Regions from separate parts of the Homo sapiens genome. Here all the other regions are linked to region 1. Evidence: promoter capture Hi-C in human tissues and cell types (Jung and others, 2019). All regions are on one chromosome and are shown on one strand. The core of a region is centred on a gene start or on the middle of the fragment in contact, and the rest is flanking DNA. Distances in the headings are between cores, read along the strand shown.

Region 1 (2,700 bases), core at 33-2,532:
AATGTTAGTGTTTGCAGGTGTCTTGGCTAAATAATTTAGGGAATACATTTTAGGAGGAAGTAGGGGCACAGAGGGGGAGAGAGAAACCAGGCAGGAAAGAAGAAAAAAAGAAAAAAGAAGAAAATAAATCTTTCTGTTCCCATTATTTTACTGCCTATAGAATTATAAAAGGTAAACACACACACACACACACACACACACACACACACACCCCTTATAGGGTCATTTAGAACCATCTTTCTTCATTTTAAAACTAAAGAAACAGGTCTAGGTGACACAGATGAAGCAGTGGCAGAGCCAGGAAAATAACCTGACCCTTGTCCCTGCTCTTTCCACCGCACCATGGTGACTCTCTTTTTTGTGTCTTTTTTTTTTTTTTCACTCTAAAACTGAGGATCATTTGTAGTCAAAGAGATCAATGCTATTCTCAAAACAAGTTCTGATCTCTCATAATTTTCTTGGTAACTCAGAATCAATGTTAAGTACGTTGAAATAAAAATACAGTTCTTTACACGGTAATTTTGTAGACTGTGCACCACGGTCCCATCCATTTTCTTACTTGATCCTTACAAAAACCCTTTGAGGCAAGGCAAGGAAGGTATTATTATCTACATTTTTAAAGTGAGCAAATTAAAACCCAAAGTAAGGTCACTTAGGGTCAGGACGGAGCAAGTACTCTATTCCTATATTTGGAATATAGGAGGGAATACACTTCCAAAGAGGCAATTCCCTCAAAAAGCACCAATCTTGCTCTTTACTTTCTTACCAAGGCATTCTCCATGCCCTGGAGATGCCCTCACTAAGTTAGTGAAGCTTGGATGTTGACATCCACAGAGGTTACTCCTAGTTTGCACCTAGTTGTCATCTTAAAAAGCGCAGTTTCTTACCCCTTCCCTTGGTCCTGATCCTTATTTAGGCTCCTATTTTTCTCTTTGGGATTTGGCGTCCTGGGTCTCACTCCAAAGCTCCACCCTCTCCAACCAAGAAGTCGCGTGCTTGGTATCCAAGGTGACCACGCAGCTTTACCCGCGTTGCCCCTTCCGTGCTTCCCATTGGCCAGTGGACTCCCATGTACCGCCCCTCCAATAGCCAATGGTCTTGAGACAAAGGGCGCCCGCCTTTCCAGCGATTCTAACACCTACCCTCTTACCCGTGCTCCCCTGCGCATTGCCTCCTGGGAAATGTGGTTTCTAAGAGGCAGAGCTCTGCGACTTAGAACTACCTATCCCGTCGGCCTTAGCGAAAGGGGGTGGACTTAGGCAAGGGGTCCAGGTCAGAGTTTAGAGCTTTCAAATCCCAACTTGCCCCTGGGGATTGCGCGGCTGATGTTTAGAACGCCTAGTCAAGCCAACCGGCTCGCTCTTGTTTCAGCAAACCCTGACTTACGTCTCCTATTTGACTTGAGGCGGCACAGTGGCCAAGTCGATTGGCCGTGGCAAGTGACCCTCCCTGTGGCTGAAGTGTTCTGAGGACTGGCGAGAGAGGCGCGCCATGCTTGCCCCCTGCTCAGGTTGGGAGCTTGGCTGCTTCCGTCTCTGTCTCCGTCAGGTCCGACTGTGGGCTGGCGCTGGGCGCTGGGCTTGCTGGGCTTGCCAAGCCAGGCCGTACAGCTCAGGTGGGAGCGAGCGCTGGCCCGGATCGGAGACTGAGGTCCCTCCGCCTGGCCCGGGGCGCCGAACTCTGAAGGAGTGGACACTGCAGGTGAGCCCGTTTGGTCGGCTGCGGGCGCGGCTCCCGTGCCACCTGGCCGTGAGGCCCCTGGACCCCCTCACCTACCCGGATGGCGACCGCGTGCTGGTCGCGGTGTGCGGCGTGGAGGGCGGCGTGCGGGGCCTGGACGGCCTGCAGGTGAAGTACGACGAGGATCTGGAGGAGATGGCCATTGTGTCTGATACTATCCACCCCCAGGCGTCCGTGGAGGTGAACGCGCCCCTGAAGTTTGGCAAGTGAAGTGAAGTGAAAACGGGTTTGGGTCCCAGGGAACGCACAGTGAACTTAATAAATGTGGTCGACGTGCACTTTTAATTGGTCCTGGCTCTCTAAACCTAATTTACAGTTGGCCCCTTCGGAAATGCACCTTTTCCTCTGTTCTGTTCTTGAGTGTCCGAGTAGTATTTAAAAATTAGGTTCCCAATTATAGAAATTTTATACATCGAATGGAAACATGATTTGGTATAATCCAGGTCAAATTCTATTTCTGGAGCCGCTTGTGTTCTCCTTTATCCCGTTGTCATTAGCAAACTGGCTTATTTTTCAAGGTTGAAGTTTCTTGACAATTCATTCAATGGTATGGCAGTCCATCTACATTTCATCTTGCTCACAGCCTGGGGGTCTGTCCCAAAACAGCCCTGTCAATAGGATGTTCCGGGTATCACCTGGTTTGAGTATTTGGTTTTAGACGGGCGCCCAGCTTCTTACTGTTATATTTCCATTCTTTTTGGCCTAAGTTTTCCATGAGTAGCAAGCTTTGAAGAAAAACACATGGTAAGCCTGCCTAGGAAGCTTCAATAATAATGCCTGCAAGATACCTTTCTTAGCTTTTCCTAAATGGCAAGCCACTGTGTACACACACTTTTCTAGGAAGGGCTCCCCAGACTGTCATTCTTCCTGGGACTGATGGAAGATATTGATGATGATGATGATAGTAATAATAATAGCATTTAGCATTTTTAAGATCATCTTTTATAATGCTTAGAGTTG
Region 2 (2,700 bases), core at 82-2,581, 660 kb after region 1:
TTTATCTAATTTGCCAATCTGTGTCTTTCAGTTGGGGCATTTAGCCCTCTTACATTTAAGGTTAATATTGTTATGCGTGGGCCAGGTGCGGTGGCTCACGCCTGTAATCCCAGCACTTTGGGAGGCTAAGGCAGGCAGATCACCTGAGGTCAGGAGTTCGAGACCAGCCTGGCCAACATGGTGAAACCCAGTCTCTGCTAAAAATACAAAAACTAGCTGGGCGTGGTGGCAGGCACCTGTAATCCCAGCTACTCAGGAGGCTGAAGCAGGAGAATTGCTTGAACCCGGGAAGCGGAAGTTGCAGTGAACCGAGATCGCACCATTGCACTCCAGCCTGGGGGACAAGAGCAAGACTTTGTCTCAAAAAAAAAAAATATTGTTATGTGTGAATTTGATCCTGTCATTATGATGCTAGCTGGTTATTTTGCCCATTAGTTGATGCAGTTTCTTCACAGTATCGATGCTTTTTACATTTTCATTTGTTTTTGCAGTGGCTGGTACCGGGTTTTCCTTTCCACATTTAGTGCTTTCTCAGGAGCTCTTGTAAGGCAGGCCTGGTGGTGACAAAATCTCTCAGCATTTGCTTGTCTGTAAAGGATTTCATTTATCCTTTGCTTATGAAGCTTAGTTTGGCTGGATGTGAAATTCTGGTTTGAAAATTTTCTTTAAGAATGTTGAATATTGGCTCCCACTGTCTTCTGGCTTGTAGGGTGTCTGCAGATAGATCCGCTATTAGTCTGATGGGGTTCCCTTTGTGGGTAACCCGACCTTTCTCTCTGGCTGCCCTTAACATTTTTTCCTTCATTTCAACCTTGGTGAATCTGATGATTATGTGTCTTGGGGTTGCTCTTCTTGAGGAGTATCTTTGTGGTGTTCTCTGTATTTCCTGAATTTGACTGTTGGCCTGTCTTGCTAGGTTGTGGAAGTTCTCCTGGATAATGTCCTGAAGAGTGTTTTCCAACTTGGTTCCATTCTCCCCGTCACTTTCAGGTACACCAGTCAAACGTAGGTTTGGTCTTTTCACACAGTCCCATATTTCCTGGAGGCTTTGTTCATTCCTTTTCATTCTTTTTTTTTCCTCTAATCTTGTCTTTACACTATATTTCATTAAGTTGATCTTCAATCTCTGATACCCTTTCTTCTGTTTGATTTGACTATTTATACTTGTGTATGCTTCATGAAATTCTTGTGCTGTGTTTTTCAGCTCCATCAAGTCATTTATGTTCTTCTCTAAACTGGTTATTCTAGTTAGCAATTCCTCTAACCTTTTTTCAAGGTTCTTAGCTTCCTTGCATTGGGTTAGAATATGTTCCTTTAGCTCGGAGGAGTTTGTTATTACCCACCTTCTGAAGCTTACTTCTGTCCATTCGTCAAACTCATTCTCCATCCACTTTTGTTCCCTTGCTGGTGAAGAGTTGTGATCCTTTGAAGGAGAAGAGGTGTTCTGGCTTTTGGAATTTTCAGCTTTTTGCATTGGTTTTTCCTCATCTTCATGGATTTATCTACCTTTGGTCTTTGCTCTTGGTGACCTTCGGATGGGGTTTTTATGTTGACGTCCTTTCTGTTGATGTTGATGCTATTCCTTTCTGTTTGTTAGTTTTCCTTCTAACAGTCAGGCCCCTCTGCTACAGGTGTGCTGGAGTTTGCTGACGTCCATTCCAGACCCTGTTTGCCTGGGTATCACCAGCGAAGGCTGCAGAACAGCAATGATTGCTACCTGTTCCTTCCTCCAGAAGCTTTGTCCCAGAGGGGCACCCGCCATATGCCAGCCAGAGATCCCCTGGATGAGGTGTCTTTGGCCCCTACTGGGAGGTGTCTCCCAGTCAGGAGTTACGGGGGTCCCACTTGAGAAGGCAGTCTGACCCTTAGCAGAGCTCGAATGCTGTGCTAGGAGATCTGGTGCTCTCTTCAGAGCTGGCAGACCGGAATGTTTAAGTTTGCTGAAGCTGCGCCCACAGCTGCCCCTTCCCCCAGGTTCTCTGTCCCAGGGAGATGGGAGTTTTATCTATAAGCCCCTGATTGTGGCTGCTGCCTTTCTTTCAGAGATGCCCTGCCCAGAGAGGAGGAATCTAGAGAAGCAGTCTGGCTACAGCAGCTTTGCTGAGCTGCGGTGGAATCCACCCAGTTGGACCTTCCAGGTGGCTTTGTTTACACTGTGAGGGGAAAACCGCCTACTGAAGCCTCAGTAATGGCAGATGCCCCTCCCCCCACCAAGCTCAAGCGTCCCAGGTTGACTTCAGACTGCTGTGGTGGCAGTGAGAATTTCAAGCCAATGGAGCTTAGCTTTCTGGGCTCTGCAGGGGTGGGATCCGCTGAGCTAGACCACTTGGCTCCCTGCCTTTAGCCCCCTTTCCAAGGGAGTGAATGGCTCTGTCTCACTGGTGTTCCAGGCACCACTGGGGTATGAAAAAAACTCCTGCAGCTAGCTCAGTGTCTGCCCAAATAGCTGCCCAGTTTTGTGCTTGAAATCCAAGGGAATCTTGGTGGTGTAGGCACCCAGGGGAGTCTCCTAGTCTGTGGGTTGTGAAGACCATGAGAAAAGCATAGTGTCTGGGCCAGAATGCACTGTTCCTCACAGCACAGTACCTCACAGCTTCCCTTGGCTAAGGGAGGGAATTCCCTGACCCCTTGCGCTTCCTGGGTGAAGTGATGCCCCACCCTGGTTCAGCTTGCCCTCTGTGGGCTGCATCCATTGTCTAA
Region 3 (2,700 bases), core at 25-2,524, 540 kb after region 1:
TAGTTCTGTAGTAAGTTTTGAAGTTGGGTAGTGTAAGTCCTCTGACTGTTTTTCCTCTTTAATACTGTGTTGGCTATTTTGGGTTTTCTGCCTTTAAATAAACCTTAGAATCAGTTTGTTCTTAGCCACAAGTAACTGGCTGGAATTTTGGTTGTGTTTGCATTGAATATATAGATCAAGTTGGGAAGAACAGACATCCTCACAATATTGAGTCTACCTATCCATGAACACGGACTATCTCTCCATTTATTTAGATCTTCTTTGATTTATTTCGTCAAAGTTTTGTAGTTTACCTTATATAGCTTTTGTGAATATTTTGTTTAAACCTATTTGTTCTTTTTTCTTTTATTAGTGATGATATATCTGTTTATTTCAAATTCCAATTGTTCATTTCTGGTATAAAGGAAAGCAACGGTCTTTTAAAGTATTAATCTTGTATCCTCTAACCTTGCTATAATTCAACCTTGCCATAATCACTTATTAGATCTATGAGTTTGTTGAAAGCACATTATTTTCTATTTTTTAAAAATATCAATAAAAATAGGAAGGAAAAGATCCATTAAAACTCCAAACAAACCGAACAAATAAACCCACTTGTATTGCGCATGAGAAAAACAGGTCAAGATTATTTTGAGGCCAGGTGCAGTGGCTCATGTCTGTAATCCCAGCACTTTGGGAGGCCGAGACAGGTGGATCACCTGAAGTCAGGAGTTTGAGACTAGCCTGGCCAACATGGTGAAACCCTATAGTGTTTTGTCTACTAAAAACACAAACATTACCCAGGCACAGTGGTGTGTGCCTGTAATCCCAGCTACCCGGGAGGCTGAGGCAGGAGAATTGCTTGACCCAGGAGGCGGAGGTTGTGGTGAGCCGAGATCACGCCACTGCCCTCCAGCTTGGGTGATAGAGCAAGAGTCTGTCTCAAAAAAGAAAAAAAAAAAGATTATTTTGAGGGCCCAGATCACTCTGGATTTTGGACAATGGGGCACCTTTGAAGTGATGTAATCTTCCCCCCAGCATTTTAGTATCACTTTGGACTGGTCAGGAATGAGTTAGAGGAGGGAAAGAGGCAATGCTGAGAAGCCAGGTAGGAGGCTGGTTTTAATTGTCTGGATCGTAAGTGATGGTGGTTTAACTAGTGTGGAATGGGGATTGAAAGAAAAAGATGGACTTGGGATACATTTTAGAGGTAGAATTAACAGAATTTGATGGCCGGGACTGGTGGCTCACGCCTGTAATCCCAGCACTTTGGGAGGCCAAGGCAGGTGGGTCACCTGAGGTCGGGAGTTTGAGACCAGCCTGACCAACATGGAGAAACCCCATCTCTACTAAAAATACAAAATTAGCTGGGCGTGGTGGTGCACGCCTATAATCCCAGCTACTCGGGAGGCTGAGGCAGGAGAATCACTTGAACCAAGGAGGCGGAGGTTGTGGTGAGCTGAGATTGTGCTATTGCACTCCAGCCTGGGCAACAAGAGCGAAACTCCATTTCAAACAAACAAACAAAAAAGAATCTGGTAATGAATTGTCTTAGATGGGAAAAACTTATATTTTGGGCAGGAAATGGGAGATCAAGGTAGGAATTTCTATTTATACTCCTTTGATATGCAAAATATAGGCTTAGAACCTGATATTAAGTGGTATTTTTTTTTTTTCTTTTCTGTCTATCCTTGTCTAGTTGGTAGGACATATTGAAAGAGACTGGCAATAAAAGCAAGGTAACAAAACAGCCACTCTGCAACAGACTGCCACATTTCTGGAGGTTTTTTTTTTTTTGAGACAGAGTCTCGCAGTGTTGACCAGGCTGGAATGCAGTGGCGCGATCTCAGCTCACTGCAACTTCTGCCTCCTGAGTTCAAGTGATTCTCATGCTTCAGCCTCCCGAGTGGCTGAGATTACGGATGCTTGCCACCACATCCAGCTAATATTTTACTATTTTTAGTAGAGGTGGAGTTTCACCATGTTGACCAGGCTGGTCTTGAACTCTTGGCCTTAAGGGATCTGCCCCCCTCAGGTTCCCAAAGTGCTGGGATTACAGGCATGAGCCACTGCACCCAGACACTTTTGGAGATTAAATAGGGTATTTGTCTATATTGCTGCATTATAAGTTAACATGAGCCTAGTGGCTTATGGTATTTCACAGTTTTCATGGGTCAAGAGTCCGAGAATGGGTCCTTTGCTCAGGGTCTCACAAAGCTGCAATCAATGCATCAGCCAGGGCTGGGGTCTTATCTAAGGTTTGGGGTCCTCTTCAAAGTTCACAAAGCTGTTGGAAGAATTCATTTCCTGGCAGCTGTAGAACTCCTGGTGGCTTGCTTCTTTAAGGCCAGCAGGGAGAATCTCTTACCTCTAGATCTTCTAACAAAGGGTTCAACTGATTAGGTAAAGTCCACCCAGGATAACCTCCTAGGTGATTAACTTAAAGTCAATTGATTAGGAGCTTTCTTGACATTTGAAAAATCCCTTCACCTTTGCTGTATAATGTAACCTAATCATAGGAATAAGATTCCATAGGGAGGGGATTATAAAGGGGCTTCGATTATTGGGGGACATCTTAGAATTCTGCCTATCACAAACTAAAACTAAAAAGAGATCAATAATAGAAGAGTTTCATGCCACCCTATAGATTTGATGGGAATTAAAAAAAATACTTTTACCATTAAATTTCTACTGCAAGATAAGAGCTCTCCACCCAAAACT
Region 4 (2,700 bases), core at 137-2,636, 630 kb after region 1:
CTTATAATTTTGAAAGCTAATGTTAGTCTGCCCTCCATAGGGGCTGTTGCATTTTGTGCTCCCGTCAGTAATGTCTGAGAGAGCCTGTTTTCCCATCATATGCCTATGGAGCATGGTGTCATTTATTTTTGATTTTTGGCAATCTTACAGGTGAAAAGTAGCATCTTTATGAAGATTTCATTTTCAAGCACTTTTTAAAATTATTATTATTTTTTCTTTTAAATAAAGATGGGATCTCACTATGTTGCTTAGGCTGGTCTTGAACTCTTAGGCTCAAGCGATCCTCCTACCTTGGCCTCCCAAAGTGTTGGGATTATAGGTGTGAGCCACCACACCCAGCCTCAGGCACTGTTTTACTTTTTTTTTTTCCTTTTCTTTTTTGAGACGGAGTCTTACTCTGTCACCCAGCCTGGAGAGCAGTGGTGCAATCTCGGCTCACTGCAACCTCCGCCTCCTGGGTTCAAGCGATTCTCCTGCCTCAGCCTTCCGAGTAGCTGGGACTAAAGTCATGCGCCACCAAGCCGGGCTAATTTTTTGTATTTTTAGTAGAGATGGGGTTTCACCGTGTTAGCCAAGATGGTCTCGATCTTCTGACCTCAGGTGATCCGCCTGCCTCAGCCTCCCAAAGTGCTGGGATTACAGGTGTGAGCCACCACGCCGGGCTCCTTTTCTAAAAAATCATTTTCTTTCTTTTTTTTTTGGAAACAAGGTCTCATTCTGTTGCCCAGGCTGGAGTGTAGTGGCGTGATGTTGGCTCACTGCAACTTCTGCCTCCCAGATTCAAGACATCCTCCCACCTCAGCCTCCCGAGTAGCTGGGATTACAGGCATGCGCCACCATGTCTGGCTAATTTTTGTATTTTTAGTAGAGATGGGGTTTTGCCATGTTGCCCAGGCTGGTCTTGAACTCCTAGGCTCAGGCAATCCATCTGCCTTGGCCTCCCGAAGTGCTGGGATTACAGGTGTGAGTCACAACACCCGGCCTCAAGCACTGTTTTAACCAAAATGTAATATAAAACAAAAATAGCAGGCAAAGTATTCCCAAATGATTGGATAGAGAAACAAGCAACCTGAATGATTATATGTAACTGTTTATGGCAGCCATTAGATAATTGCTACTGTGGTCATGTATATATTATAATTACTATATTTATAGCAGCCATTAATATTATAATAAATGATGGCTTATTGGCTCCTTTCCTCCAACTCCAGTTCAGGAGGGTTGTCACAAGTAACTTGTAATATGAATGCCTCCATGTGGCTAATTTCAAAGCTGGCTTTAGAGTGATTTTTCAGAAGAACAATTTTCATTTTTATAAAATAATTAAAATTAAGGACATTTCCAAGTGCAATTATTTAAATAAGAGAAACAAAACTAAAATATTAAGCTTCACCCCATCTTAGAGGTATACTCACCACTGCATCCTGCTAAGTATACATATATACCGACGTCTCCATATTCTTTTACAATCTGTAATAATGTTGAAATAAAATTTAGTTTCTCTTTACTCTGTGCCAGATGAAAGTCTCTTTTTACCAATGTTTTTCGTGATAGAAGACACTCTAATTCATTCACTTGAGCTACTTTGCTTCAATAATGATGTATTTTTGAGCTAATCAGTTAAAAATAATTTTGTATCTCTTTTGCTTTTTATGTGGACAGTGATAATTAGGGGTAGCAAAAATACTGTTAAATCTTACTTAAGTACAATAAAACTATTATATTAACTTAAAGGATATTATAATTTCAAAATAAAAAACGATTTTTTTTAGAGACAGCATCTCACTAGTTTACTCATGCTGGTCTTGAACTCCTGAGCTCAGCAATCCTCCTGCTTCAGCCTCCTGAGTAGCCTAGCATATTACAGTAATGTTTTCTAAAACGAATCTTCTTGTAGCAATACACATTAAAATATTTACAGATGATGTTATGACTGGGATGTGTTTCAAAATAAAACAAGAGAAAGTGAATGTCAGCTATAAAGGAAACCAGATTGACCATAAATTGATCATTGTTGAAGCTGAGTGATAGTTCACGGGGGTTCAATATACTAAAATCTTTACTTCTATATATTTTTGAAATTTTCCATAATCAAAAGGGGATAAATCTTTTGTTGAAAAGAGAGCCTAGCCCACCTCCCTGATTATGCTGATAGTACGACACCAGGCATAGAGGTATTAAATGACTCGTTCAAGAGGATGCTTACCCCTGCCAGAGTTTTCACTCCAACAGAATCAATAAAATTGACTTGAGTGAAATCCAAAATGACAGTGTGGACGTTATCCCCTGGGGGCATAAATCTTTGCATTTCCTCAGGAAATGTGCTTTTGATCACTATTGGGGGATATTTTACTTCACCATCCTCTTCTTCAGGCTTGGTAGCATCCTCTCCATCTACTTCTGCATCCTGTGTCAAAAATTAAACCAAACCAGAATTTTATGAACAACTCACATTTCTGGTTGTGAGAAAGATTTATAATGGAAAATCTGCTCTTGTGTTCTTAAGCTACTGACTCTACCAGACCCCTTGTAAAATATTTGTCATATTCTAGCCTTGTAACTGAACAAAAAAAGGATGTATGTATAACATTCCATTTTAAGTCAACTTCTCTCTTTTTCCTTCTCCTCCTTTTTTTTCTTGTCCAACAAAATCCACTCTCCTCAGTTATCCTATCCATTTTCTGCTAAAGTCTAAAATAG
Region 5 (2,700 bases), core at 201-2,700, 560 kb after region 1:
TTTCGGTGACTCTTTATGCACACACAAAGGAGAAATACCAGCTCTGCCTCCCTGCAAATTCACAGGAAGTGAGGTAGGGCAAGCCTTCCAGCTAGTATTTAGCCTTTTGGATTCCTTGTGTTGTATTTACACATAAGTAAACAAAATGTGCATATTTCCAGTAGGAAAAGAATGGAATAATAGGAAAAGGGAAGAGGATGTACTCATTTGCTTACATTCCTTCCTCTTCCGTATTCTTTAACCACCTATTTTTCTTCCTAAGGAAGCAAGGTTTTTTTTGTTTTGTTTTTAAATTTCTCCATTCTAGTCTGAAAGGAAGCAAAGTTTTTAAGAGCAGTTTATAATTTGGTCTTTTTGTGCTTTTTCTTTGGCACTATGCCAATTTACATATTGTAATATCTGGAAGTAATCTTTTAAACCCCGTATTTTGACTTTCACTTCAGGTTTACTCTTGGCTCAGTTTTGCCCACAGTATGTTTTGGGAGGGGGTAGTAACTGTTAGAGCCAGAACTTGCAGGGGATCTACTAGTTATCAACTAGCTTTAAGCCCCACTAGCTGCTTAGTTTGCCATGTTGAGGATGATGCTCAAAGTAGTATCTGGAAAATGCCCTGATATTGGCAGCTGCCTAGAACTGTAGCATTGGCAGTACAAAAATAAACCTGTAACGTCAATATGACATTTCAATAGAAAAGTTCAGATTGAGGCCGGGTGCGGTGGCTTACGCCTGTAATCCCAGCACTTGGAGAGGCTGAGGCGAGTGTGTCACTTGAGGTTAGGAGTTTGAGACCAGCCTCACCAACATGGTGAAACTCCGTCTCTACTAAAAATACAAAAATTAGCTGGGCGTGGTGGTGCATGCCTGTAGTCCCAGCTACTCGGGAGGCTGAGGCAAAATTGCTTGAACATGGGAGGCCGAGGTTGCGGTGAGCCGAGATGGTGCCACTGCACTCCAGGCTGGGCGACAGAGTGAGACTCTGTCTCAAAAAAAAAGAAAGAAAAAGACAAATTCAGATTGACAAACACAAAGGATTGATTTCTACCAGTGAAATGATGCAACCCTTTTGACCAGGTAAACCATGTGGTGCCTGTCTGTAGTAAAATGCTTTGGGAAAAGTAATTTTTCCCTAATTTAGTCTTAATTCTTCTAGATTAAACTCAACAATGTAATGAGGCCTGATAGTTAAAAAATCAAAATAGAGTCCTGGTGTGCATTTTAACTTTGCAGTTAATGGGACTGGTGATTTTTTCCTTGTTAATAAGCATGTTATATAATGTTAATCTTAACTAGAGGTCCTCCTGCTTTATCTTAACTAGATTCGTGTGAGGGATGACAAGATGCCTTTGGCGCACCTTGCAATAGCTGTTGAAGCTGTTGGTTGGGCACATCCAGATACAATCTGTCTCATGGTTGCAAACACGCTGATTGGCAACTGGGATCGCTCTTTTGGGGGAGGAATGGTAAGTGATTTTAAAAGAAATTTTCCATAACAGATGGAAGATTATCATGTTTTCTTAAATATAAGTTCTTTGTAAGAATCCTTTTTTAAAGTGGCAGAATAGAGTCTTGTACTGTGAATTCTGACTTAAAAATATAAACTGATCCTGGATTGCATGTGGGCCAGAAAAAGTTTCTTTTTTTCTTTGCCACAAAGTTTATTAGTGGCAAAATTTGAATAAGGACAGAATTAGCTAGAAGTACTATGTCAATGTTAATATCCTAATTTTAATAGTCAGTAGGCCCTCTATATCTGTGGGTTCCATATCCGTGGATTCAACCAACCATAGGTGGAAAATTTTGGGGAACAAATGGATGGTTGCATCTGTACTAAACATGTATGGACTTTTTTTTTGGTCACTTCCTAAACAATATAGTATAACAACTATTTACATAGCATTTACATGGATTGGGTATTTATCTAGAGATGATTTAAAGTATACAGGAGAATGTGCTTATATGCAAATATTACATATACCATATTACATGAGGGCTCTAGCATCTGTGGATTTTGGTATCCACAGGGATCTGGGAACCAATTCTCCACAGATACTGAGGAACTATACCAAGGTGATGTAAGAACATTAATTTCCTTGTTTTTCACAAGTACATACTAAAGTATTTGGGGCAAGAAGCATCACATCTAAAACTCAGTTGAAAAAACTTGTATAAAGAGAATAAAGCAAACATGGTAAAATAACAGGGAATCTAGATAAATGAAATTCTCTGTACTGTTTTTGCAACTTTTTTGTAAGTTGGAATTATTTCAAAACACATTGTATAGATTTGTCTTTACTCATAGATTTCTCCAAAATACATTTCATCTAAATAATCTTAAGCTTCATATGCAATATAACTTTGAATCTTTAAGCGTATGTAGCCAAGAGTCCTAGAAATTGGGTTGATAATAGCCATCTAGTTTTAGAAGTAGGTATAGCTACTACATTAATTATAAGGACTCATTGCTTTTATAACATGAATTTCTCCAGGGGGTGCACTGGGTAAGTGAGATAATAAACACAATTCTTAGTCATACTGAATTTTAACTCTACTACTGAGATGTTGAATAAAACTAGGAAACAGCCTCTAAGGATATTCACTATTTTCCACACACTCCATTTTTCTTTCTGTATTTTGGACATGTATAATTAAAATTCTCTTGGAATTTTTTTTTCCTTGCAGAATTTATCTAGCAAGCTGGCC

The links. Contacts are between HindIII fragments. The study calls those that stand out against the background at their distance.
Region 2: a contact is called between a fragment that was not itself captured here and the fragment with the promoter of FAM185A in region 1, in 1 of the 25 tissues and cell types used here (liver).
Region 3: a fragment that was not itself captured here is called in contact with the fragment with the promoter of FAM185A in region 1 in 1 of the 25 tissues and cell types used here (neural progenitor cells).
Region 4: a fragment that was not itself captured here is called in contact with the fragment with the promoter of FAM185A in region 1 in 2 of the 25 tissues and cell types used here (hippocampus and lymphoblastoid cells).
Region 5: a fragment that was not itself captured here is called in contact with the fragment with the promoter of FAM185A in region 1 in 2 of the 25 tissues and cell types used here (dorsolateral prefrontal cortex and thymus).

The regions. Positions count from the first base shown.
Region 1 is chr7:102,747,717-102,750,416 of GRCh38, forward strand. It overlaps FAM185A (family with sequence similarity 185 member A), which reads left to right and starts at 1,283. Exons shown (of 8, transcript NM_001145268.2): 1 at 1,283-1,942. The coding sequence starts at 1,492. It also overlaps the pseudogene RASA4DP. RefSeq lists silencers at 973-1,062, 1,103-1,272 and an enhancer at 1,006-1,300. The HindIII fragment of the contact is 9,642 bases long and covers 1-2,700 here.
Region 2 is chr7:103,403,822-103,406,521 of GRCh38, forward strand. All of the region lies in intron 8 of SLC26A5 (solute carrier family 26 member 5), which reads right to left. Among named protein-coding and RNA genes, the nearest start is that of SLC26A5-AS1, 40 kb to the right of the region's middle. The HindIII fragment of the contact is 3,935 bases long and covers 1-2,700 here.
Region 3 is chr7:103,288,162-103,290,861 of GRCh38, forward strand. No RefSeq gene overlaps it. Among named protein-coding and RNA genes, the nearest start is that of PMPCB, 7.9 kb to the right of the region's middle. The HindIII fragment of the contact is 9,549 bases long and covers 1-2,700 here.
Region 4 is chr7:103,375,393-103,378,092 of GRCh38, forward strand. SLC26A5 (solute carrier family 26 member 5) reads right to left here. Exons shown (of 20, transcript NM_198999.3): 18 at 2,207-2,407; 19 at 1,416-1,470. Among named protein-coding and RNA genes, the nearest start is that of PSMC2, 29 kb to the left of the region's middle. The HindIII fragment of the contact is 3,745 bases long and covers 1-2,700 here.
Region 5 is chr7:103,307,636-103,310,335 of GRCh38, forward strand. It overlaps PMPCB (peptidase, mitochondrial processing subunit beta), which reads left to right. Exons shown (of 13, transcript NM_004279.3): 7 at 1-73; 8 at 1,317-1,460; 9 at 2,680-2,700. Among named protein-coding and RNA genes, the nearest start is that of PMPCB, 12 kb to the left of the region's middle. The HindIII fragment of the contact is 4,844 bases long and covers 1-2,700 here.